Regions from separate parts of the Homo sapiens genome. Here region 1 is linked to region 2. The links are contacts of gene promoters, found by promoter capture Hi-C in human tissues and cell types (Jung and others, 2019). All regions are on one chromosome and are shown on one strand. The core of a region is centred on a gene start or on the middle of the fragment in contact, and the rest is flanking DNA. Distances in the headings are between cores, read along the strand shown. Region 1 overlaps CADPS2 (calcium dependent secretion activator 2). Region 2 holds the start of CADPS2 (calcium dependent secretion activator 2).

Evidence for each region. Contacts are between HindIII fragments. The study calls those that stand out against the background at their distance.
Region 1: a contact is called between a fragment that was not itself captured here and the fragment with the promoter of CADPS2 in region 2, in 2 of the 25 tissues and cell types used here (H1 embryonic stem cells and stomach).

Annotation. Positions count from the first base shown.
Region 1 is chr7:122,359,140-122,365,091 of GRCh38, forward strand. CADPS2 (calcium dependent secretion activator 2) reads right to left here. Exons shown (of 30, transcript NM_017954.11): 26 at 1,791-1,874; 27 at 1,649-1,681. Among named protein-coding and RNA genes, the nearest start is that of FEZF1, 57 kb to the left of the region's middle. The HindIII fragment of the contact is 5,436 bases long and covers 1-5,391 here.
Region 2 is chr7:122,881,913-122,887,962 of GRCh38, forward strand. CADPS2 (calcium dependent secretion activator 2) reads right to left here and starts at 4,548. Exons shown (of 30, transcript NM_017954.11): 1 at 4,087-4,548. The coding sequence starts at 4,425. RefSeq lists an enhancer at 3,836-3,885 and silencers at 4,246-4,375, 4,416-4,465, 4,476-4,555, 4,626-4,785, 4,796-4,955. The HindIII fragment of the contact is 17,974 bases long and covers 1-6,050 here.

The sequences.
Region 1 (5,952 bases), core at 1,424-3,923, 520 kb before region 2:
AGCGTTCCTCAGACAACATATGCCTGTGAATAGCCACCACACCTCCTGGGAAGAGGAGGCATGAAAATTGTCATTAAATATGCAAAGAGCTATCATGCAGAAGAGAGATTAGAACGAGGATTAATGGGTAAAATTCACAAAGATACAGAATTTCAACTCATAATACTTAACAGTAGGCTGCCATATGGTCATCCTGTAACCACTGAAATAATTAAACAGCACCCAAGTGAATCTTTGTAAGGGATGTTAGAGAGGGGTTACTTGCACTGAGAAGGGAAGTAAATGAACCATTTTCTGTCTCCTTCAACTCTGAAATTCTATGGAGAGAATAAACTAGTATAGGGCCAATTAAAAACCTCAAAATCTCTAAGAACATGAATAATTTTGGTGTCACAGTCCATTTGTAATTCAAAATCAAACAAAAACTATGTGTGTTACAAAGTCCAATGTGATATATACAAGATTATTTGTGCCTTCCTTTTTAAGATATCAAACATAAAATCTCCCCTTAATTCTCCCTTTCATGCTGCTGCTTTGTGGGGCTCTACATATGTGATTTTTTTCTACTTATGGTCCAGCACTGATTCCTTGATTCTAGGTACAGGACGAGGAGGGTATGAAGACTTCTTTGGGAAACATTTGTAAAATAAAAAGTCCAGTTCCAAAGAAACCCCATGCAAAGGTAGAAAAGTCCAGGGCCTTCTCATTTAAAATACTCATTTATAACTACAGCAGCAATAAAGCCAGAGACAAAATGTGGTGGTGCATCCTAAAAATAAGAGCTATCTACAACTGATACATAAAGCTTGCCAGCACTCAAAACTGCTACCATTTCTAATGGCAATGTAGAGATATAATGTTCTTCAAATACAAAGAGAGAATTTATATTCCATCTAGTCTTAAATCTTAATTTATTTTTCATTGTGCTCTAATTCTAATTCTTTGAAAATTGACATATATGCCAAAATAAATGATTAAACAGAACACCTTAGGCCTTGATCATATAGGTGATAATAGAATTTAAATCAAAAACTAATTTGGTATGATGATTAGCTTAAAAATGCTGCACAACTTGTTGGTTATGTTTACCATGTGAACGTTCTCATTGTAGCTAAGTCAGTTTCATGATTTCTGCTCATGGAATCTAAATTTTGGAACAAATTTATGAGTTATTTCCCAAGAATTCTATGAAACAACAAATGTTAAAATAAGTAACTACTGATTTATATAACACTTGTGTATTTAGAAAACTAATTCTTTAACTGGTTCATCTTTATCATTATTCTACCTTCTATAAGAAACCCATTACAGCTTTCATAGAAAGGGGAGGAAAAGCGAGCAGTTTTTCTATAAATAGTGTGAGGCATTTTTCTACCCCATCCTAGAGTGCTATAACTTCCCTCTGCAACTCAGGTGATATGTTCTTATGATGAACTGATCTCCTTAAGAGTTTCTGAGTTACAACAGAAAAAGTCAACGAAATAACCTTGCTATGTCTTGTTATGAAGGTTAGTGCTTGCTTAAGGAAAATAAACTACTCCCTAAGGGAATGGCACTGGTTTAAAGATTTGAAATAAACCCATGATGAACTGCAATTTTTTTTTAAAGAATTCCATACAGTTTTAAAAAGCAGATAAAAAATACTTACTGGAACATCAACATATTTTGCAGCTGCTTTCACCTTAAGTGTGAAAGAAAGAGATAATCATGAGAATTATTTTTTTAACTGCCATATAAGTACTATGACAACAGTTAAAAGACCACAGAAGAGAACTCATTCAAATACTTACAGTGAATGACAGAATGGATGAAAAGAAAGTGCCTTCATCATACCTTGACAGCTTAGACAACACGCCTTCCAACACTGAAACAAACTATAATACAGTTATAGTGAGTATTTAGAATGTTACTATGCATACAAACTAATAGCAGGACAAACAATTCCTGAATCAATTTCTTCCATCGCACAAAAATTCACAATGAATGAACTGACAGCTGAGGTCAGACTAACTTGTGATGTTTACTCTTTCATTCTGAACATGAACTCTACTGTCCTTTTCTTTCCCATGGCTGGAAATAATACACTTTTTTTTTTTTTTTTTTTTTTAAAATGAGATGGAGGCTTGCTCTGTCACCCAGGCTGGAGTGCAGTGGCGTGATCTTGGCTCACTGCAACCTCCACCTCCCGAGTTCAAACTATTCTCCTGCCTCAGCCTCCCGAGTAGCTGGAACTACAGGCGTCCGCCACCACACCTGGCTAATTTTTGTATTTTTAGTAGAGACGGGGTTTTACCATATTGGCCAGGCTGGTCTCAAACTCCTGACCTTGTGATCCACCCGCCTTGGCCTCCCAAAGTACTGGGATTACAGGTGTGAGCCACCGTGTCTGGCCAATAATACACAATTTTTAAAAAAATAAAAGATAATGTGTCATAGGAATCTAGTCACTATACATATGAGACCACTGAAGCCATTCATAAACAATCTTAGGTCCATGAGATTTTTCCTTAAAACATTTTTCAACTTCAATGTGGATGTTAAGAAACAATGGCAGGCAAGCTTAATCAGATTCCTTTCTATTTTATATTACTTGCCATCCTTCAACTTTTTCTACATCTACACAGGAGGTTGAATATAAAAGAACAGATAATGGGCCAGGCAGGGTGGCTCATGCCTGTAATTCCAGCACCTTGGGAGGCCAAGGTGGGCGGATCGCCTGAGGTCAGGAGTTCGAGACCAGCCTAACCAACATGGAGAAACCCCGTCTCTACTAAAAGTACAAAATCAGCAGGGCATGGTGGCTCATATCTGTAATCTTAGCTACTCGGGAGGCTGAGGCAGGAGAATTGCCTGGGAGGCAGAGGTTGTGGTGAGCTGAGATCATGCCATTGCTCTCCAGCCTGGGTGACAAGAGCAAAACTCTGCCTTAAAAAAGAAAAACAAAAACAAAAACAAAAAACCAAAAAACAAACAAACAAAAAAAATGAACAGATAATGAAAGGGAGGTGGTGTAACATATGAGCTCTTGTAACTATGACACAATGGCTGACATTAGTTAACAAGCATTTACCAGGCAGTTCTAATTGGCACATATAAGGATCATCCCTGCTTCCCAAAGCTTACGTAGCAGTTATGGAGAGAAAACAGATACACACTGCAGAGTACAATGGAAAAGAGCACTGGACTCAGAATGTATATCCCAATTCCATCACTCAGTAGAATGCAAGCTCAGTTTGACCACCTTACTTCTCAGGCTTCCTCCATCAGTTAAATGGACTAGGGTGAGGGGGGTAGGATGTGGAATTCAAATTAGTCTCAAAAGTGGTTTACATTTCTAAAACTTTATATTTCTATGAAATAAAAAAACACATACACTATAATACAGTAAAAATGTGAAGCATTTTACTTTATTTAGCATGAAAATCGATGAATAAGAGATCTTAAGAATGACATACTGCCCTACATCTCTCCTCCTTAGAACTAAAATAATATGAACTATTGACACATTATAGATTCCCAAAGGGAAAATGCTGACAAGGTTTTTTCAATAGGAAAAGGGAAATTAACGAAGACTGGTTTTTGTTCACATAGCAGCTTCTTCAACAAAGTGATAATAGTTCTAGGGACACAGCTTATTGGTCTCTGGTGACCAGAGAACTCGCTGTGAGTGCATAGGAGATAATCTTTTCTTTATGGCTGATCAATTACTACAAAATAGTTTATGCAAAAGAAACAAAAACTTCCCTATAGGTTTCTCCATCACATCATTTGCGACATGATGTAAGAACACAGAAACAAAACCATGCAGACTGACTGTGAACTATAAGTGCATTTTTAAAGAATGAGAATAACGTATGCTTGGGTAGCTATCCTAAAGGATGCCTAGGGAAAAAAAATCCACCCACAAAATTGCGAATTGCTCACATGTAGAAGTTAATTTAGCACTTTCTTCCTGCCTGTTAGGATTTCTTACCAATCATGACTGGCTAACTCAACTTGATGTAGTTTGCAAGGACCCAGAAGATGAATACTCTAGGGTTATGTCAGACCAGGGAAAGGGAATTCCAAACTTAATGGCCCTCTGTGGAAAATGCCTCATCTCTTGTAACTCAAATCTTGGAGCAAGTGTGTACTGGGTGATCTCATTTGCCACGAGGACAGCGGCAATTGCTATGGTTACTAGACAGCTTGAACCATGGAGGCTGTAGCCCAGCACCTGATTCTTGGTGCTTGCTAGTGAGTCTGTGCATACACACATGTGTGTTGCTGAGGGACAAAGCAAGATAGAGGCAGGAAGCCTGTTGATGAATTTGCTGAGGGACAAAGCAAGATAGAGGCAGGAAGCCTGTTGATGAATTTGCTGAGGGACAAAGCAAGATAGAGGCAGGGAGCCTGTTGATGAATTTACTTCTTGGCTCAAGTTGCAGCTCTGCCGCTGTCTGGCTACGAGATAAATGTCAAGTCATTTTGCTTCTCTCTCTTCATTGTACTTCTCAGTAAAGTGGGGAAAAGGACAGCTATCCCGCCCACCTTACAAGAATGGTCTGAAGATCAGTGGAGGTAATTTATGTGAAAGAACTGTGAAAATGGCCAAACACTAAAGAAATGTAAAGAATTAATATTATCCATATGATTAGCAAAATCACTATCTGTGTCTAAAAACCTGAATACATTAAGTCACAAGTTAATGGGGGCTGCCTTAGAATTACTTAGTGACAAAGAGGAATGAGTTTGGTCCTTAAGCTAATGGGTCTAATTCAATTAAATCTATGGGGCTTCTATGGAGGTAGAATAGAGCTGAGGCTTTAAGTCAGAAAACCACTGGGATTCCGCCTGTTTCAAGGTTATTTGGCAGACGGCAGAAGGAGGAAGGCTTTAAACACAGGTGGTCTTGATCCAAAGCCCATGCTCTTTACCCATCATGCTACAGAACTGTAAGAATTAAGTGATACGCCATATGCAATGTGCCCAGCATATAAATACTCAAGGGTTCAGGTGTGGTGGCTCACACTTGTAATCCCAGCACTTTGGGAAGCCAAGGCAGGAGTATTGCTTGAGTCTAGGAGTTCAAGACCAGCCTGGACAACATAGCAAGATCCTGTCTCTACAAAAAAAAATTAAAAAAATTGGCTGGGCATGGTGGCGTGTGCCTGTAGCTTCTCAGGAAGCTGAGGTGGGAGGATTGCTTGTGCCCAGGAGTTCAAGGCTAAACTGAACAATGATTGTGCCACTGCACTCCATCCTGGATGACAAAGGAAGACCCTGTCTCAAGTTAAAAAAAAAAAAAAAAAAAAAAAAAGAACTTGGCCAGGTGCCGTGGCTCACGGCTGAAATCCCAGCACTTTGGGAGGCTGAGGTGGGTGGAACATGAGGTCAGGAGATCGAGACCATCCTGGCTAACACAGTGAAACCTCATCTCTACTAAAAATACAAAAAAGTTAGCTGGGTGTGGTGGCAGGTGCCTATAGTCTCAGCTACTCAGGAGACTGAGGCAGGAGAATGGTGTGAACCCAGGAGGCGGAGCTTGCAGTGAGCCGAGATTGCGCCACTGCACTCCAGCCTGGGCAACAGAGTGAGACTCCATCTCAAAAAAAAAAAAAGAGCCCAATAAGTGTCATTTTGTTTTAATTATTAATGAGTACCTAGGATAAGACATACAAAAACACAACAGTCTTAGATCTTTCCCTTTGGGAAATACAAACTAGTGGGAGAGATAGACATGAACATAACTGCACATGACACAAGGCAGAAGTGTTATGGGCAGTGTAGACAGTAAGCAGTATAGCTGAAACCAGAAGAAGGAAATAATGTCTTTGACTACAGGATATGGGGTCAGCTTCACTTATGAGTTGGCACAGGAGCTGAGCCAAAGGATAGCAGAGATAGAGTGGCTAAAATGACTCTCTGGGAAGGTTGCTGGCAAATGCATTTAGGGCAGAATTTTCTCCATGT
Region 2 (6,050 bases), core at 3,298-5,797:
ATCTTTACTCCATCCTATTCCTCACTAATTCTTTGAGGCATGGACTGAATCTGAGACTTACATGTACACAGCAGACACCAAAGTAGTCAGAAGATGAAAACAAAATAAAACCTGGAAAGTACCACTATGTCCAAAGGGAGATAAAAGTGGCCACTTTATAGTAGTTACAACATTCAAATGAGCGAGTTGGAGGTATATTATTTCACCCAATACTATTTCCCCAAATGTTCTTCTCCAGATCAATTTTACCTGTTTACTTCCCCACCATCTGCAATTTCACAGTATTATTTACATACATTTCTCAAACTTAGAATTATCACAGAAAATTATGCAAAGTGGTAGGAGTGATTATACAAAATGGTTTAATAAGGCACAATTTAGTGTGGTTACAGTGGAGACACACACTGAAACATAAAAATATAGGTATATGAATTATATGGAAGGTTAGTAGGTTCTATTTTAATACCCTCTTATTTCTAGTTAAAAAATACATAAAAACTCAAATAATGAAAAGAGCAGTGACTAGAAACCTATGGATTCTAATCAAAACTACCAGCACTTTAAGCCATATACATCTTAAATATTGTTACGAATTTAGACCTGAAGTCTGTGAACTCACATTTATGAGTAAAGGTACTTAATCTCTTCTATGTTGGTCATTATGCTTATCAGGATCTCTCTAACTTTCAAACCACCAAGGAACCCTTTTTTTTTTTTTTTTTACTTTCTCCTCCGAGGTCTCAATGTTTTTCATAAGTCTAACAAATTGCCTTTATTAATTAGTACCTGATTTGTATTATTGTTTTTCTAGTTTCAACACTGACTCTACCTTTAACTGAAGATCTAGAACCATCCAAAGTTAATCATCATTGTTAGCACTGGGGTGGTGCAAAGGTAATCAGGGTAAATCAGCATTAGAGGCTCAAGCACTATCACTACTGACATCACTTTCAATCACTGTTTATTAGTTCATACTCATATCATGTGTGAACCCCTGGATATGTTCATTTAGGAGGTGTAGCACCTGGAAAGGCACTCTGTCACAGTGTGTAGCCCATATGCACCCCCAGAATTTTCTGTAAAACCATCAGTGGTCAATCAGAGGGCTTGAATGTCATAAACTGACCACTATTATTCCTCAAAATTGAAATAGTCTAGACAAAAGCAAAGAAATTCATGTGTTCGTTAACTGTGTTTAATGCTACTAAGCTTTCTCAAATAGCTCATAGACACAACCTCTTACTAACTTTGTGGACCATTTTAGCCAAGTGAAAAAAATAAATAAATAACACTGCTGCTCAGTTCTGGTTCATAGAAACTCACCAGCTCTAATAGTGAACGGGCTTTGACTAAAGAGAAACCTGACTCCTGGCCTCCTGGGTAAAGATCTTATCTTTGTGATTAATTTTCTTCATAAAATGAGGACCCTTTCAGATCTCAATTTCTGGGTCTCTAAATTCTTGAAGTTGAGAGAAGTGAGTAAGCAGCAATATTCATTTCAATGACAACAATTTCAGCTATTAAATCTTTTTACTGGATGCCTGACTACTTGAAGATACAGAATAAAATAAACAACGGATTAGTGATTTTGCAATTACCTTGTTACTTCTTTTAGATAATCTAACTGTATAATGCAAGACTTCAAGTAAGTTTTGGCATTACTTATTAGCTTGTGCATCAAATTCACATAAACATAGTTAAATTCCCATTTCATTTTGCCCTAAGAGGAAACCAGACTGCCAAAAGTTGCTCCAGCTCCCTTTAGTAAGCAGCACATTTTTTAAAAGGTGGGGGAGGGTTGAGTAAAGTAAATACTTAGGCTATTTGGCATCCATCTTAATAAAAAATAAAAGTAATTCACAAAAGTTAACCTGTGCTCAATGCTCTAAGCATTTAGAATGTGGAAATTCCTAAGGATTCTATTTTTTTTCATAGAATATATGTTGTATTTTGCTTTTTTTGTAGTTTGAAATTATCTTTGGTAATGCCTGGATAAGGTTATAACAATAGTCTCCCCAGTAGTATTGTGAATGCACCTGCTTGCCAATTCAAATAATTTTGAACAAATATTTAAACAGAAGGAGTCAGAGAAAAATGCACTATTTGAACAGCTAAGGGAGGGTCCACTTCATTAACAAAATGCAACAAGTATTCACAGTATAAATCAACTCATAGTAAATTTGCAAAAGCATCTTCAAGGATAATATTCCAAGGAGAAAATAGTCTCTTAATTTTACCAAACATTATTTTTACACTTTAATCATTAAAAATAGGCTTAAATGCAATATGAATGGTAAAACTAGAGACTGGATGATATGAACTCATACCACAACATATACAAAAAATAGTTTTAACAATGACTATTGAAGCTGACAGTCGCTTGACTAGAATTGAGAAGAGGCCACGGGTGACTGCCTCAGAACAGACTCAATTAGAGCAGCTGATTAGGAAGTATGGGATTCATACAGGAGTGGAGCAGCAGGCTCATAAAAACACCGCGGGGCATTCAAAACTTACCTGAGTAATGGTGGTTTTAACTGTGCCAATTTGTTTGGGATTGGGAAATGCTATTATGACCTATTTCTCTTCTCCAACATGAGGAGTCTCCCTACCATTCTGTGACTGAATACCTAGGGTTAGGTTACCTGAAGGATCTGTTATTAATCTCCAGCTGTAAGGAAATATTCCATAAGGATTCCCAGAGAATAAATGATTCCAAAATAGTTGCTCAGTTTGTGTGTGTTTTAAAAAGTTGGGTAAGACCACTTAAAATTTTTTTCTAAGAGGATAGATCTTAAGCATACAATAGTGTTAACTATAGGTGTGTACTTATCCCCATGATACTTATACACCTATGAAACCACCAATAGTTAGGGTGGAGTGGTATGCACAGCTTTTTACATGTCAATTATACCTCAAAAAATAAAGGTTATCTAAATGGGGGTAGGAGAATGTAGGGAGACTGAATTTACTCTGAACTACAGTTATAGTTGAAGTCAACTCAAAACCTCTCCAAATTTCTAAAAATGCCTCACACACTGAAGTTAATATTTCAGAAAACTAATAAATGTCTGTGCATGTAGGTATGCCTTGAGCAGACTACAATCTCTCTGGATCTCTAGGTCTTGTCACAAACTGAGGGAACTGTTACCGATTTCTACAGAACCTTCCAGGTTCAGCATTCTATTAAAAAGATTTCCTAGAGTTTGTATTGTAAACATTTAACCACTTAGGACAATTTGAGTCATTACTCGTGTCTGGTACAGAACATCAGGCCCCTGGGGTCTTGTTTTGAAACTCAAGTTGGCCAGCCTTTCACCTGAAACAAACTTCTTACCTTTTGGGGGAGAATAAGCATTTTGTTCCCCAAAAAAGCATTTGGAAAGCATTTGTTATGAAGTGATCATGCACCAATCCTTTATCTTTCATCAGTAATAGTATATTTCATTAATCAGGCCTGCCCAGACCAGAAATTACTTACCCACAAACACTTTACAAAGCTGCATGCCTTCTCGGTGTTTGGATTTGATGTCCTGGTTGTATGACAATATAGGAAACGTATTAATTTAACTTTTTTATTCACTGAGGAAAATTTCTACCCCTCTTAAGTGAAGACTTCACTCTAGCTAAGAGAAGTACTCGGGCTCCACCTGTTTCGCCTAGCTACAACACTCATTCAGACCCTCGGCAAACCCAGCTCTAGCAATATCACGCCAGGCTAGGTGGACAGGAATGCACCAGTGCTGTTGGAAATTAAAGTTGATGGGAGTTGCATTCTAATCCGGCCAGAGCTGCGCCTGCCGGGTGCAACCGCGGCGCGGCCGGCGCTGTCGGTCTCTGTCTCACGGATGGTGAGCTGACAGCTCCTGCCAGCCCAGGCGGGGAGGAGGAGAAGAGGTGTCCGCTGCAGCCGCATACCCGGCGGGTGAAAGCACCGTCTTGTCCCCAAAGATTCCTCTGCCCTCAGAGACTAACAAAAATACGGTGTCCTGCGTTTCGCAGAAGGACGGGAGGCGTCCCAGAGCTCTCCCGGGAGAAAAACCCAGGGAGAAGTGGTGGTAGGAGGCGCCCGGTCCCGCAACTCACCTTCTGCTGCCTCCGGGCCATGTCGGTGGGCTGCTTGGCGTTGAAGGGGTACGCGATGCACCTCACGACGAAGACGTAGAGCTGCAGGCGGATCCTCCGCTCCTGCTCATCGTCCAGCTGCCGCTGGGGCTCGTCTCGCCCCTCGCTGAGCACAGAGGGGCTCGGGCTCACAGATCTGGCCGCGCCGCCGCCGCCCGCGCGCCCCGGCGCGTCCCGCCGCCCTTCCCGAGTCGGGGCTGGAGGAGCTCGCTGCGAGCTGCCGGCTGCCACCAGCACATCGCGGCTTTCCTCTTCCAGCCCCTCGTCCGACTCCTCTTCGCTGGAAGACGGGTCCAGCATGGTGCTCGGGGATCCCCGCCGCTCGGCCCGCGGTCCCCAAGCGCCTCACCCCCGGCGGCTGCGCCCGCGGGTCTGAGGGAGCCGCGGGGCTGGCTGCAGCGGCCGCAGAACGAAAGGAAAACTGGCCAGGGCTTTCCGGACACGTCGAGTTAGATTCAGGAGTGTTTCCTACCACCAGGGCGAAAGGGGCGGGCAGGAGCCGGGAGGAGGATTGGGAGGGGGGAGAGGGGGAGCCGCCGGGACTGAATAGGCGGAGTTAGCGTTGGGGGTGAGCTTGGGCGCCTCAGGAATTGCTCCGCCAGCCCCGGGCGCGCCGACCCAGCGGTTCCCCAGAGCCCGCCGGCAGAGGCGGAGCCGCCCGAGCGCCCGGACGCAGGTGGGGAACCTGTGGCGCCTACAACAAGCAACACGTGGAATTGAATGTTGAAGAGCCGCGCGGGGCCGCGGAGTGCGCGTGCGCGCGCCGCCGCTGCTGCCCGGGCCCGCCTGGAGCCCTAGCACACAGTTTGCAAAGGCGGGGAGCGGCCGAGCGCGATGGCCCGTGTAAGCGTCCACCGGGGCTGCTCCGACTACCCTCACCCTACCACCTGTGATCTTTTCTCCAGCAGGTGGAGGTGGAATGGGGAGCGGGGAGGGACTGTTCCCTAGCAAGAGGTTAGGGGGAGCGGCCGAGACATCTCCCCAACCCGAATCGGCTGCCTAGGATTGAACCCCAGCGCGGAAAAGCGGGACTGGAGCCCTTCACCACGAAGTATCTTTGCGACAAGACTTTGAAAAGTCTCACTCTGCTCTGCTGCCGTTTTGATACTCATGCTGAAGCCCAAATTATAAAAGTCGGAGTAATGAAAAAAAAAAGAAAACCAACGAGGCTTACTTTTTAAACTGTTCTAGTCCTGCAGACTCAAGGCAAGAGAGATTTTATATGTGCAAAATGATACTGATTCAGCTCAAACATATCTCGATTATTTTCTGGGTTGGGATGCAGTTGACTCAAAACAGGTTGTGTAGTGTGGACATTTATTCAACAAAGATTTGAGCGCCCTCCCGGTGTCCAGCACTGTTAGCCTTTTGCGGAGCCCGCGGTGACTAAGGCACATGACACTCAGTCGCTGGTGGTTCTGGCCTCAAGTCGGCGTCTTGTAGCTGCGCTGAAGCCTGCCTTATCTGCGCAGATTTCTCAGTCCTAGTGCTGGAACCACCTAGGAGTTTCTTATAGTAATTCTGTATCTTATGTCCTAAGTCCTGACAGAGGGGGAAATAGGCAAAACAATGCATTCAACACCAGGTGGAGTGTGCAGCGACCAGGTGGGCAGGGAGGTGATGAAGTTCAGTGGAAATAACACAGGGCAAATTAACTACCAGCTCTGAGCTCCTCTACCACCATGGTCAAACAGCAGTTTTAGCTTTTTCAGGCCACTTTCATATAGTTAGGTACACAAGAGAGACTTCTGCACTTACTGACATTCTCTCTAGATGGGTAAAAGACAAGGAGGCATTTACTCCTGAGGAGTCTTACCTATTTTTCTGCCTAATCCATAACAGGCCCCCTAGTAATAAAAGGTCTTCAGTAAGAGCATGGCTGTGGGATGATCACAAACTGCCAAGAAATAGAAAATCTCAAACAC